Linked DNA regions of Homo sapiens: all the other regions are linked to region 1. Evidence: promoter capture Hi-C in human tissues and cell types (Jung and others, 2019). All regions are on one chromosome and are shown on one strand. Each heading gives the region's core, a stretch centred on a gene start or on the middle of the fragment in contact. The rest is flanking DNA. Distances are from core to core; before and after follow the strand shown. Region 1 holds the start of KCNE1 (potassium voltage-gated channel subfamily E regulatory subunit 1). Region 2 overlaps LOC105372793 (salivary glue protein Sgs-3). Region 3 has its middle 18 kb from the start of SMIM34.

The links. Contacts are between HindIII fragments. The study calls those that stand out against the background at their distance.
Region 2: a fragment that was not itself captured here is called in contact with the fragment with the promoter of KCNE1 in region 1 in 5 of the 25 tissues and cell types used here (dorsolateral prefrontal cortex, heart right ventricle, lymphoblastoid cells and 2 more).
Region 3: a fragment that was not itself captured here is called in contact with the fragment with the promoter of KCNE1 in region 1 in 8 of the 25 tissues and cell types used here (IMR-90 fibroblasts, adrenal gland, aorta and 5 more).

The regions. Positions count from the first base shown.
Region 1 is chr21:34,509,784-34,514,515 of GRCh38, reverse strand. KCNE1 (potassium voltage-gated channel subfamily E regulatory subunit 1) reads left to right here and starts at 2,306. Exons shown (of 4, transcript NM_000219.6): 1 at 2,306-2,489; 2 at 3,201-3,415. The HindIII fragment of the contact is 8,709 bases long and covers 1-4,732 here.
Region 2 is chr21:34,407,425-34,412,156 of GRCh38, reverse strand. LOC105372793 (salivary glue protein Sgs-3) reads right to left here. Exons shown (of 6, transcript XR_001755015.2): 2 at 4,209-4,477; 3 at 3,737-3,867. Among named protein-coding and RNA genes, the nearest start is that of C21orf140, 8.7 kb to the right of the region's middle. The HindIII fragment of the contact is 5,549 bases long and covers 1-4,732 here.
Region 3 is chr21:34,439,302-34,444,033 of GRCh38, reverse strand. No RefSeq gene overlaps it. Among named protein-coding and RNA genes, the nearest start is that of SMIM34, 18 kb to the right of the region's middle. The HindIII fragment of the contact is 5,928 bases long and covers 1-4,732 here.

The sequences.
Region 1 (4,732 bases), core at 1,057-3,556:
AGGATTCTGATGAGGGACTCGGTGACCCTTCTACACAGCGAACGAGTGCCAAGTAGATGCAGTGGCCACTGCTCAAATCCCTCTTTCAAGAGTGTCAGGGCCCTCCTGGCTGACATTTGTACTCTGGCAGCGCAGACTTTTCAGTGTTTTTAACTTACCATGTTGTCTTTTCTCTGCCTAGAAAATGATCTCATTGTCCCAGCCCAGCCCTGCTAACCCCACAATGAGGTCCACGAGGTCCTGCTCACCCCTGTTCAAATTCCAGCAGCTACCTCTGTGCCCAGCCACAGAACATGTTTCTAGGGGCTGCTTTTCTTTTCTTGAGTGGCCCTAAGCTGTTTCTTACCAGATTAGTAATATATTCTATCAAAACCTACTGAAGAAACACTTTCAATCAGTGGCAAAGCGTGCATTCTGCACAGTTCTGCCTGTTGAATGTCGGTCATTTCACATTTTACTGAACCCCTCTCTTACAAAACAACGTGTGGGTCCTGGGCACATTCATGATGCAGTGACTTTCAAACCCATCAGCCTGGGAACCCAGAAACTTCTTGCATTATTGGTCACAATAAGCGCTACTGAAATGATTGACTCTTTAATATTTCTCCTGCAGGTGTCTATTAGGAATGTCTCTTCCCCCTAAGAATCGTTGCCAGCTACTCCCGCTGGGTCTCCCATCATGCCCCCTTCTTTTCCATTGTATGGCATATTTTCTTTTTTATCGTAATTGTTAAATTGTTTGTCTTCCCTGTTGAAACATAATTTGGGTGGAAGTGGGATTCCTGGTAGCCAATGGCTCATAGTAGACGTTCAACACGCAAGTGGATTGGATAGATGGAAGGATAGATGGGTAGATGGAAAGTTGGATGGATGGATGGATGGATGGATGGATGGATGGATGGATGGATGGATAGGGATTTTGGAGGAAGAGGAGTGAGCAGTCACTGAAAAGAATAGAAAAATAATGAGGCTTGCTCCCTCTCCCTAGTCAGAAGAGCCAGTAAGCAGCTTAGAGCTTTAATCCCACAAATTGTCAGGCAGCTGGCGCAAGAACAGGGAAAAAGAGAGAGAGAGAGAGAGAGAGACCCTGTCTGTGGTAGGTTATGGTCATCAGTGAAAAAGAACAAAAACCTTTGTTTTAAAACTCTCCTCAAAACAGATGATTGGCTAGAGGGTGCGGCACAAAGGAACTTGTCAGGGTGATGGAGACATTCTGTATCTGGATTGAGCAATGCAAGAACCTGGGTAAAGACACAGTCATGGTAACAGCTGTATACATCTGTTGAAAACTCATCAAACTTATCATATTTAGAAAGGGTACATTTTGCTTCATGTAAAGTATGCCTCAATAAAGTGTACTTGATTTTAAAATCAGGATAAAGGAAAAAAACATTGATCTTGGATAATGGGCAGGGGTTGGGGAGAAGGTCTTAATTATCATCATATCCTTTTAAAAACGTTTTTCAAGTGTGTGATGCTCTGATGACATTCTTAAGACACAGCAAGGCAAAGCAGTATCCCAAATGAGAGAGTGAGCATTCCAATAAATATTTTCTGTAAGACACTGATATGTCTATGACTATTTGCTAAATTTAAAAATCAACTTGGACCATATTTACTCCCTTAAAGTCTAATAGACGACTAATTTCTTCTATGTTCAGAACAAATATGTTGCTACTTTAAGAACAGCATACATAGGTGTGGTCGGCCCTCTGTGTCTAAGGCTTCTGCATCTGTGGATTCAACCAACAATGGACTGAAAATATTCCAAAAATAAAATAAAATTAATGAAACAACAACAAAAATAAAACAAATAAAAAAATGCCAGGTAACAACTACTTACAAAGCATTTACATAGTATTAGGTGTTAGAAGTAATCAAGAGATGATTTAAATCACCATCTATGATTGGCTGATATGCATAGGTTATATGCAAATACTATGCCACTATATATAAAGGACTTGAACATTCGCAAATTTTGGTATCTGCAGGGGATTCTGGAACCAAACCCCATGGATACCAAGAGACAACTATATATAAAATACTGAAAGAGGCATGGAGAGTGATTTTCAGGCCTCTACCTAAAGCCCTGAATATTAGAAATTACTGAATTTCTTCTCAGGAAGGAAATTACGCCATAAACCAGTGTTGCCACACACCCAGAGAACAAGATGACCCGACGCCCCAGCCTGGTCATGCCACATGAGCTGAGCAGTGGGTAGGCCACTGAGCCAGTGATAGAAATCACAAATTACAAAACGTCAGAGTACTTTCTGGAAATAAGCCTTCCTCTCCAGGGAACAACGCATTTGACACTTGACTGGGATACACTACCGGATCCTCCGAGGGTGATGGTTCTCAAGAAGGCAGAAGCAATGGTGACCAATAGACCTCCTTAAAGGCTGAGCCGCTGGGCACCTTCCTACTCCTCTCGACCGTGCTAGGATGACTGCAGCAGAGTCCCCGAGTCCTTTGATGCAAGGGTCTAGGTGAGTTCGAAGGAGAGCCATACTAGGCCAGGCAGAAAGGCCCATGGTGATGGCTGTCCACCCTGGTCAGGGGAATTCTAGGTTCAGGCCATGCGGCAAGGTCACCTTGAGGGACATGCTTTGCTCTAAGCTCAGCTTAAGTGTGTCTGAACCCCCCTCACTTCTTCCAACTGCAGAAGCACATGGAGAAGGGGGAGAAAGGGTTGCCCACCTCCTAAAATGAGGGCAGCGTGGTGAAGAGCCCCATCATGCCCCACCAAGGTCCTGTGTGCAGGGCAGGGCAGTGCCTATCCAGAAGGCCAGACCTCTAACTGCTGCTCTGTAGGACGTCCGGGCCTCACATGCAGGCTCCTATAAGCTGGCTGTCTTGGCAAGAGGGCCCTGGTACAGCACTGTGTTCATCACAGAAAACCACACCGTACATAATTTGTAACAGACAGAAATGCATTTGGCTCATGGTTCTGGAGACTGGGAACCCAGGATGGAGGGGCCACATCTGGCAAGGGCCTTCTTGCCATGACATGGTGGAAGGTATCACAAGGTTGGGGAAGGAGGGGTGGGCGGGGCGGGAAGAGAGAGAGAGAGAACAAGAGAGAGAGAATCCATTCATAAGGGTGGAGCCCTCATGACTAAACACCTCCCATTAGGTCCCACCTCCCAACACTGTTGCTTTGGGGATTAAGTTTCCAGCTGGCTTTTTTCAAACCTTAGCAACCACCAAACAGACAAGCCCTTCGGCCTGTCCTGGAGGGCGTTGAATGGCATGGCCTGGAGCTCAACCAGGAGAACCGTGCTCAGGAGGAAGAGACCAGAAGGATAACTCAAAAAGTTCTGAGAAGTTCCTAAGACCACCTGAAGAGAAGGAGCCTGCTGCCAATGGTGTGGACACCGCAGTGTGCTTGAGGAGACTTCAGAAACGAGAACTGGTAGGAGAAGGGGGTTGCACAGACCCTTTCCTCAGTTAGGCACCCTCTGCTCCCACCCTCATGCCCACCCTGACATCAGGCTAAGGGAGAGGCGCTCATCCATTGACAGGTGCCAGGCTGTCCTGGGCCTGGCAAACCCTGGCCTTGTACACCCACTCTCCACACGTCTGCCCCCACCCTCCCAGGGGCAGGGCCGGGCTTCCCTGCAGAGACACAGGGCAAAGAGGGAGAGAGAAGGCCTCAGGCCAGGGCATGGCCTAGTGCCTCCCAGCGCCAGGTCCTGACAGCCTGAGAGAGCTGGAATCAAGGAAGGTGATCCTGGGCCCCAGACAGACGTCAGTGAGCTTCAGCCTCTGGTGGCTGCACACCAGCCAGGGCAGCAGCGCCCCCTCCTGCCTGTGTTCAGCTGTGTGGGCTGCAAGAGGACTAAGGAGAGTTTCAAGGAGGCAGGCAGTGGGGGAGGAAGTGTCCCAGGTAGAGGCTGAAGCTTTAAGGAGGATGGGAGGGGAGGCTTCACCCGGAAGGAGCTTTTGGAGCAAGGGCCTGAAGGAAATTGGGGAGAGAGCCTGAGTATCTTTGGTAACTGGGAAGAGAGCATTCCAAGCAAAGGGAAAAGAAGAGAGGCTGTCAGACAAGTGTGCACCCACCATGTCTGGGCACATCGAGAAGGACCCTGTGGCTGGAGGGGAGGAAGGAGGGGAGAATGGAAAGTGAGACCAGAGGTGACCTGACCAGGGCCTTCGGAGCCCCGGTGAGGGGCTCAGCGGGTGGGTGTCATGGGTGTGAAGAGGTAGGTCCCTCATCACCAGTCAGCAAAGCGTTCCCTGGGCTCAGCTGAAGTCCTGCTGGAGTGTGTGCCCCCTGGACTGGAGGGGATGGGATTGGTGGGAATAAAGTTGTGAGTTTGGAGTTGTGGTGAGCAGAGCACGAAGTGAGCCCCCAGCACTGCCACTTCCGCGTGAGGGGTGAACTGGCCCTGCACTCTCTCCCCTTGAGTGTGGGCAGGACAACCCTCTCTGCCTACAACGGCTCAGCACTCGTACTACTGTGGGACAGTGCTTCTGTGATTACGTTCCTTTATAGGAAAAATTGATTTTGCAGATGTAGGTAAGATCTGGACTCGTTTGACTTTGAGTTTATCAAGAAGGATGATTGACAGACACAGTGGCTACTTGAGAGTGGAGGGTGGGAGGAGAAAGAGGATCAGAAAAAAATAACTACTGGGTACTAGGTTTAGTACCTGGGTGACGAAATAATCTGTACAACAAACCCCCATGACACAAGTTTACCCCAATAATGAACCTGCACATGTACTCC
Region 2 (4,732 bases), core at 790-3,289, 100 kb after region 1:
ACAGTCACTTGAACACAGGAAGTTTCCTGTAAGGAAATGATTAAGTGGTGAGGAAGAAACTACAAAGATACAAAGAGAACTCTCAAGGGTTCCCTAGGGCTCAGTACCCAGGGAAGGACCAACTCGGCTCCCCAAGGCTGGGCTTCAGACGTCTTTAGAGAAGATGTGATTGCAGCCACTGGCCGGAGGGGAAGTTCGTGGGTGGCCGGGGCCACAGTTGGCCCACAGTCCCCAGGCAGCTGGTCCTCTAGTGCACAGGAGCACCAAGACTGGTAGATGGGTGACCAGAGAGAGCCAGGGTGCCAGGAGCTCACTCGCTGGTGGGGTGGCCGGGAGGATGCTGTGCGCCTTGCCCATGGCACACAGGGCCCATGGCACACGCCTCCAGGACACAGCCCCAGAGAGGCTGTGGTGTGGCACTTGCAAGAGTCGAGGCACTGAGCATGTGCCATGGACTGAATGCTTTTGTCCTTTGTCCCCTGAAATCCACATGTTAAAGCCTTAATCCCCAATGTGATAGTATGGAGGTGAGATTTAGATGAGGTTTCGGGAGGTTTAGATGAGGTCGCGATTGTAAGGCCCCCATGATGGGATCAGTGCCCTTACAGGAAGAGACACCAGACCCCCCTCTCTCTCTGCACCTTGTGAGGACACAGCAAGAAGTGTTCTACCCGCGAACCAGGAAGCAGGTCCTCACCGGGTACCGAATCTGCCAACACCTTGATCTCAGACTTCCAGCTTCCAGAACTGTGAGACAGAAACGTGTGTTGCCTAAGCCATTTGTTTTAACAGCCCAAACTGACTAAGACACTCATCAGAGAAAAAGCAGCGCTGGACATGTGTTACAGGCGGCAAGACTGATTCCTTCAGACTCCTGCAGCAGCGGAAAGAGATTCCAGTACCGACCAAGCTCAACCCCAACTCAGAAAACGGTGACTGAGGTCTTCAAAGAGAGAACAGAAAGGGAACAAAAAGGGACTGAAGGAGAAATGAAAACAGAACGTGGGGGCCACGTGGAAATGGAAAGTTCCAGAACGGTGAGGGGAGAACTACTGAAAATGGTTTAGCGGGGTGGGCTGGACGAGGTGCATTTTGTGATTTGGCTGCATTGCAAAGTCTTGAGCCAAGACTCAGCCAGGGCTGGGGTCGCCTCTGGGGATGCAGCTTAGTGCAGGTGGAAGCCAGGCTACAGTTTGGTGAAGCCTCTCAGCACAGTGCTGGGGCGAGTCCTCTACACTCTGTGGAATTCCCAGTTCACTGGAGGCTCGCTAGCAGGGCAAGTGTGGCCCGAAGGTGCACTGTCCATGTCAGGCAGGCATGCAGGGAAGCCGGGGAGCTGACACCCTGCTGGGGGCAGGGGAGTGGGTGGCCTGGGGTGCCTTGGGTCCCATCAGCAGGGTCATGGGAAACAGCCTCCAGGCTGCACAGTGGTGGACAGCAGTGCTGGCTCCCCCTGTACCTGCCCACCAGCCTTGGCCCTCCTAGGCCCCGAAGGGTCGTTTCCTGCTGTCCAGTGACTGTAGACCAGCCCTGGCCCAGGAAACCCTATAAACTTCTCCTCCAACTATTTCTCCTGGAGAAGACAAGAGTGCCAATGGATTACTACAGTGCAGGGCAATTGAGCAAAGATGGGGATGAACTGGGGTCCCATGGGAGCAGGGAGGAGGGGCCAGGGAACCCTGGCCAGAAATAGGAAAGCAGTAATGGAAGGGACGACTCAGGAGAGGGAGTGCCCATCTCAGAGCCTTTCAGGAACCTGGCATTTAATAAATGCCTCCTCCAGAGGGAAGGATTCAGGCAGATCACTTCTAGAAGGGGTCACCGCCTCTCCAGGTTCTGCATGGTCCACAGCATATGTACAGTCCCCAGAAGCTAGACTCCTTCCAGGCCTGGTGTGGAGGGAACCTAAGTGTGTGATGGAGGAGAGTCTTCCACGGGCTATGAACTCTTTGTAAAAAACAAAACAAAACAAAACAAAAAAACAGCATGCATGCGATGCTGGGGGCTTAGGACAATATCTTAAAACAGAACTGAAACATTGGTGGATAAACCTCAGGACAGGCAGGAAAAGAGCCGTAGCTCATCCACCATCAGCATTAGCAATGTAATCAGACACAACGGAAAATCAATGAAGTAAAACCAACCAGCAGGATTATGTTGTTGAGCCTCCAATAAATGTCTTAAGTGTCCAATAGAGCCATATCGTTTTGATGACATGAATTTCTGTGTTGCTTTTCTGATTGCTCAAAATCCTGAAATTCTTTGGAGAGTATTATCAATGTCATTATCTTTGCCAGGAAGATGCTGAGCTGTCTTCCCTGAAGCAGTGTTCTCCCTGGGTTGTTTGAACCCCTGACTGTCACGTGCCTTCTGTCCTAAGCTGCCACCAAGGCCCAGACAAGCCCTGCCATGCATGTGTCTCTTTATTAATACATAGTACAGCAGGGAGCTGCCCCCTCTCCCAGCCAGGCAGGGCCGCTTATCCCACACCCCCTGCCTTGCAAGCACACTTAGTGTGGAGTATATTAGGAAGTTTAATTAGCAGAAAATAAATAAAGTAGGGATCCCAGCTTGAGCCCAGGCTGTCCCCTGCTGGGGTGGGACATGTCTGAACAGTGTTGATGAGAGTTTTATGAAAGACGCATCTCCTAGAGGAAAGGACATGGAGAGAAGTAAGTTTGATTCCCTCTCGGAGGAGCCTGAGTGCCCAGAAGTCCAAGCAAGAATCTTGAGCTGTATCTGGGAGTGGGGGTGCTTAGATCACGAGCATACTCCTGAACCCTGGCAATGGGGCAGAGCATGGAATGTGCTGACTGGCTTAAGCTTGGAGCAGGACTTGATGTGGCTTCCTCCAAAGGAACCTGAGTTCTGTGGGAGATGGATGAACATCTGAACAACTCAGGGCACTGCTGGGGATATGGAAGCTGGCAGGCAGCCCTTACCATTTGAGGTGCGATAGGGAGAGAGGATAACCAACGTTTAACAAACTCTATCAAATACTGGGTGCGTTGACACGTGCCAGCCCCAGGATGCTCTTAGAAACTCTATGAGGGGAGTGTAATTAGAGCACTGAGGCTCAGAGAGGTTAAGAAACTTGTATATTGTCACACAGCTAGCAAGAGTTTCAGGAAGCTAGATCTAACAGATTCCAAGGCCCATGTAATGTTTCCATCAGGTATTTGTCCAAAAAACACTTTTCCTTCAAGGTAAGGAGTGGGAAGGCTACTCGTATGGGGGCATGGTGTCCCAGCAGCCCACAGCTCAGTGCCAGACTGTGAGTGAGAAGACGAATGTGTGTCCCATCTCTGCCACTTCTGTCTGTGTGGCCTCAAGACCCTCACCTAGAAGGATGGCTGAAGTATCACTCCAGGCCTGGTGTCCTGACTTCTTGAACAACTGTCTAGGGTGTGCAAGCCAGCACATCCCCTTTTCTGCTCCCTAGTTAGATGGATTTAGCTAGGCTATTGCTTTGTGAGAATAGAGGGACCCAAGAGCCTCATTCTCCATCTATATAACTCAAAGACTTTGTATAAGTCAGGGTGAGCTGGTTTTGTCATGAGAAACAACCACCCCAAACTCTCAGTGGCTGCAGACAGCTGGCTTTCTTTCTTTCCCCCGCCACATGCGTGCAGCAGGTCTGCTGGTGGCTGTGCTCTGAGACTCAGGTTGCTCCTGCAGACCCTCTGGAAACATGGCCATTCTCAGCTCTGGAGGGACGAGTCCCTGAGTATCTCACCTGGACAATTAAATGCTCCAGCCTGGAAGAGACACGAGTCACGTCCATCCACCATTCATTGGCTAGAATAAGCCCATGGCTCCTCTCAACCGTGGGGGCAGGGAAGTCTCATCCCACCGGGGCCTGGAAGGCTGAGAACCAAAAGTTGGGCGAACAGTACTCATGGCTATCATAGAGTGGAACCAGTTCCAAGACTCTCAAACCATTTTTTGAGAGCAAGGGGAAGCCTAATCTCATTCTCTATTTTCTATCATCTTTTTTACTTATATAAACCCAAACCTCTCTTTATTAAAACATCTCTCTATATATATGTCTATTTTAAAAAGTCTCTCTCTATATGTCTTTGTGAGAAAAAAAAATGTGTTACGTTCCTTTCAAAACCAACCCTGAGGCTCTGGAAGCACTAATGTTCTCCACCCACAGTTCCCCACCGGCCCCTGATCAGACCTGGTTCTAGGACAGGGGTTCTCACCTTGGCTTCCCTGTAGAATCACCTGGAAGCTTGTAAAAATCCCATGGATGCCAGGTCTCACCCCAGGCCAATTCTGTCAGAACCTCTGAGCTGGTGCCAGGCAGAAGCAATTGGGTGAAACTCCCAGGAGATGCCTGGATGGGTCCAGGTTGAGTCTGCTGTTCCGGGTGAGCCCTGAAGCAGCTTCCAGCTCCGGGGCTGCCTCTTTCTTTCCCAGGTGAGGTTCCAGGAGAAGCCAGAGATGGGGGTTTGCCTTAACAAACCAGGAGCTGAGGAAGGTCGAAGAGAATTCGGTGATTATCCCGACTCATGATTCCAGCTCCTTCCCAGTGGTGGGAGCTGGGAATGCCGTGGGAAGCAGGCGTGGGAGGGGTGCCCAGGGAGACAGGTGCCCGGGTGTGCTGTCACTCAGTTCCAGGCCTGAGCTCAGCTGCTGAGAAAACAGGAAGTGCATCAGGAACTGAGTGTGCTCAAGTCCTGGGTATTCACAATTCACAAGGACACGTGCACACATTCACACACAC
Region 3 (4,732 bases), core at 1,545-4,044, 71 kb after region 1:
CCAGGCTGGTCTCCAATGTCTGGGCTCCAACGATCCTCTCACCTTGGCATCCCAAAGTGCTGGGGTTACAGGCATGAGCCACTGCACCCAGCTTCTGGTAAAGTCTTTGAGTAAACAGAATAATTGCATAAATAAAACAAATCTTAATACAAAAAATGAGTCAGGAGATTTAAAGCAATTGGCTCCTCAAGCACATTGGTCTGTCTATTTACCTGAGGTCAGTAAAGCAGTAGCCAAGTTATCACAGATATTCCCCCAAAATACTGGAATTTGTTGATCTGCAGGTGCAGTGGAAGGCAGTCTGGGTGCTGCTGCCCCCTGGTGGTCACTTTGAGGATATTGCTCAATGCACAGGGAACCCTGAGGACCGGGCAGCCAGGCAGGTGCCTGCTGGGGCTGGGTAAGGGGCTCTGAGTGCCTTTAGATGCCCCTGGGAGGCTACACTTCTATTCAGCCATCAAGTTCAGGGAGACGGGGCCCATCGTGGGCACGACTATGAAATGGGAGGATGGATGCTGAGAAAGAGAAGCATTCTTCTAGAAGTTCCTTGCAAGGTAGCTCCTCTGAACAAAGGCCCTGGAGTCACAGCTCTAAATCCCTGAGAAGTTGCTAGGACCCCCTTCTCACTTCCTTTGGGCAGGAACCTGTTTAGCTCCCTCCCCTATCCCAGGAATATTCAGCACCTGGAAAATAATCTCTCCCCCAGACCTAAGTCCCTTTTGGTTTCAGGCCTGTGATCACTCATGCTATGCATGGAGAAGAGATTCCACCTCCTAGGTATCCCTAGACTCAGATCTTTTTATCACCTTCTATTCACCCCATTCGTGAGGGAAGGAGTCCCACTCTAGGGCTGGACACACAACACCCAACACTGGATAGGTGAGACCCACGGCAATTTTCTAGTCACATATACTCGTAGCCCAGGGGAAGGGCCACTGCAGGCTATGCAGGGCCACATGAGGTGGTGCTCAAGAGCAGAGTGAACAGCAGGGTTGTTGGACAGCAGGTTTGGTAGTAACAAGAGTGATATGGTTTGGCCGTGACCCCTTCCACATCTCATCTTGAATTGTAATTCCCATAATCCCCACATGTCGTGGGAGGGACCCAGTGGGAGGTGATTGAATCATGTGGGGGTTACCTCCATGCTGTTCTCATGACAGTGAGTGAATTCTCATGAGATCTGATGGATTTATAAGGGACTTTTCCCCCTTTTGCTCAGCACTTCTCCTTCCTGCTGCCACGTGAAGGAGGACATGTTTGCCTCCCCTTCTACCATGATTGTAGGTTTTCTGAGGCCTCCCAAGCCATGTGGAACTGTGAGTCAATTAAACTTCTTTTCTTTATAAATTACCCAGTCTTGGGTATCTTTATTAGCTGCCTGAGAACAGGCTAATACAGAGGGTGGAGTGGCCCCTGGTTTCTTCATGAGGTTGTTAAATAATTCCGCAGACTGGCAGGGAACTGAAGCCTGCTACTTGGCAACAAACAGGGGTGGTACCTGGTCCCTGGGATGAGAAGGGTTGCCCAGCTGGGAGACCCTATTTATGGGAGCAGAGGTGGGACAGGAGCTTGCATTTAGGCCACTTGAGGCCCTTCACATTTTACCACATGTCAAGGCAGCACGTAACATTGGCCTTGATTTTATGCTTTATGCCGCTGCTAGAGATGGCTGGGCAGGTGCTGCACTGAGTCCAGCACTGGGCCTTAGGGGATGAGCAGGGGGTGAAACCCAGCCCCACTTCCCTAGCTGAGCCAGGGGCCCTGGAGTGGGGCAGTGGCTGCCTGGTAGGAGGAGTGCCTCTCCAGTTTGCTGGAAGGACACCATCTGGGCTCTTGGGCCTCTGCAGCCGGCTTGAACTCCCACATCCTTTCCTCCTCCAGCACCTGCCTCTGAAGGTGGATGAGGTCACCATTGCAGCCTCCCCAGGAGTAGGGAGAAAGGGACAATGAGAGGAATCAGTGGAGAAATTCCACACCTTCCGATGGCCTCGCACATCACGAAAGGGGGTGAGAACAAGGCAGCAGGAGCAGGAGGGCCTCCATCTTGGATGGGATTAAAAATCTAAGCTGCTTTTCTTCCGAGGCTCAGCGAATTAGGGTAGTAAGGTGAGTGTCCCAGTTCCTGTCTTGTCATAGAGAGGAGGAATGAGAGAAGTTGCTGCTTGTCTCAGGCTTCCACAGAATGGAAGGCCAGGTCCCTGTCACGGCCCCGTCATGCCCCGGCCTGCTCATCCACTCCTCTGTCCCCACGTGGTGTCTCTCCCCTCACGCCAGACAATCCTCAGACACAAGCCCCCTCATGCAGTTTCACAGCAAGGAGATGGGCAGGTCCACTTCCAGTGGGTCAGGAAGGCTCCCCCAGCACCCGCGAAGGCAGGACTCGGGGTCACTTGGCAATGAAAGGCCTGAGTTAATGTGAGGAATGGAGAATCCACAAGCTTTGAGGGAAAACTGGGAGATGCAGAGAGAGGAACCCAGGCTTCAAGAGGACTTTCAAAACACAGCTTTTCTAGGAAAATTAAGTGGGTGATTATCTTATTTCCTGTGGCTGCCATAACCAATGACCACAAAAATCAGTGGCTTCAAACAACAGAAATGTAATCTCTCATGGTTCTGGAGGCTGGAAGTCCAAAATTAAGGTACCAGCAGGGCCAGGCTTCCTCGTAGGCTCCATGCCTTCTGAGGATCCTTCCTGCCTCTCTCAACTGCAGGTGGCCGCTTGCATCCCTTGGCTTGTGGCTGCATCACTGTCTCCTCCACCTCCATCTTCACGTGGCCTTCTCTCCTGTGTGTCTGTATGCCCTTTCATGTCTCTTATAAAACATTTATCCAATTTTACCATAAGCTAATTAATATAAACAAGAGTTAAGTTCCTATGGCCTGTTTCTGGTCACAAAACATCACCAAACTTACAAAGACCTCAAACACTTCTAATACTAAACATTGAAATAAATGTGAGCCATACATACATTTAGGAAAGATTAATACAAACAAGTGAAAGCTGAGCACGGTGGCTCACGCCTGTAATCCCAGCACTTTGGGAGGCTGAGGCAGGCAGATCACCTGAGGTCAAGAGTTCAAGACCAGCCTGGCCAACGTGGCAAAATCCTGATTCTACTAAAAATACAAAAATTAGCTGGGCATGGTGGCGCATGCCTGTAGTCCCAGCTACTCAGTAGGCTGAGACACAGGAATCACTTGAACCCTGGAGGTGGAGGTTGCAGTGAGCCGAGTTAGTGCCACTGCACTTTAGCCTGGGCAACAGAGTGAGACTCTGTCACAAAAACAAACAAACAACAACAACAACAAAAAACAAGCGAGAATATTATTGACTGGCTTATTCCACTTCAGAGCTGTGGATGGCAGAGCCCATCCCAGAGGCACAGGGTCAAGGCAGACACCAACCCTGGACAGGGTCCTCTTCCATCATAGGGCACACTCACCCACTTCCACACTCGCTCACACTGGGACCATGTAGACATGCCAGTTCACCTACCGTGCATAGCTTTGGGATGTGGGAGGAAACTGGAGGACCCAGAGGAAACCCACACAGACATGGGGAGAACGCACACCCTCCACAGAGACAGTGGCCTGGCTAGGAATTGACTTTTTTTTCTCATCAACTTTATAGCAAAATGATGTTGAATGAGATAGTGTCATCCAAGGACCTGCTGTATAATGACATGTATCCACCATCGTAGTAATATACAGAGCATTTTCGCTGCCCTTAAAGTCCTCTATGCTCTACCTGGTTATCTTCCCCCCACCCGTCTCAACTGCTGGCAACCACTGATGTTTTCACCATAGTTTTGCCTTTTTCAGAATGTCACATAGTTAGAGTCATACAGTATGTAGCTTTTCATAAGGGCTTCTTTCACTCAGTCATATGCATTTCAGTTTCCTCCATGTCTTTTCATGTCTTGATAGCTCATTTCTTTTTAGCACTGAATAATATTCTACTGTGTGGATACACCACAGTTTATTTATCCATTCACCTACTGATGGACATCTTGTTTGCTTCCAAGTTTGGGCAATAATAAATAAAGCTTGCTATGAGCATCTGTGTGCAAGTTTTTGTGTGGTTACAAGTTTTCAACTCCTTTGGGTAGATACCTAGGAATACAGTTTCTGGATCGTATGGTAAGAGTACACGCCGTTTTGTAAAGAGCTGCCAAACTGTGTTCCAAACTGGCTGCACTATTTTGCATTACCATCAGCAATGAATGCGGATAAAAAACGCCACATCCTTACCAGCATTTGGTGTTGTCAGTGTTCTGGGTTTTGGCCATTCCAATAGGTGTGTAGCCCACTGTATTCATCAGGGTTCTCTAGAGGGACAGAACTAATGGAATGAATATATGTATATGTATATATATAGTATATGTATATATATGTGTATATATGTATTTATGTATATGTGTATATATGTATATATGTATACGTGTATATATGTATATATGTATATGTGTATATATATGTGTATATATGTATATGTGTATATATATGTATGTGTATATATGTATATATGTATATACATATATTCCAGTATATGTGTGTATACACACACACACACACACACATATATATACACACACACACACATAATATAAACAGGAGTTTATTAAGTATTAACTCACACAATCATAAGGTCCCACAATAGGCTGTCTGCAAGCTGAGAAGCCAGAAGAACCTCCTGAGTAGCTGGGATTACTGGCATGCACCACCATGCCCC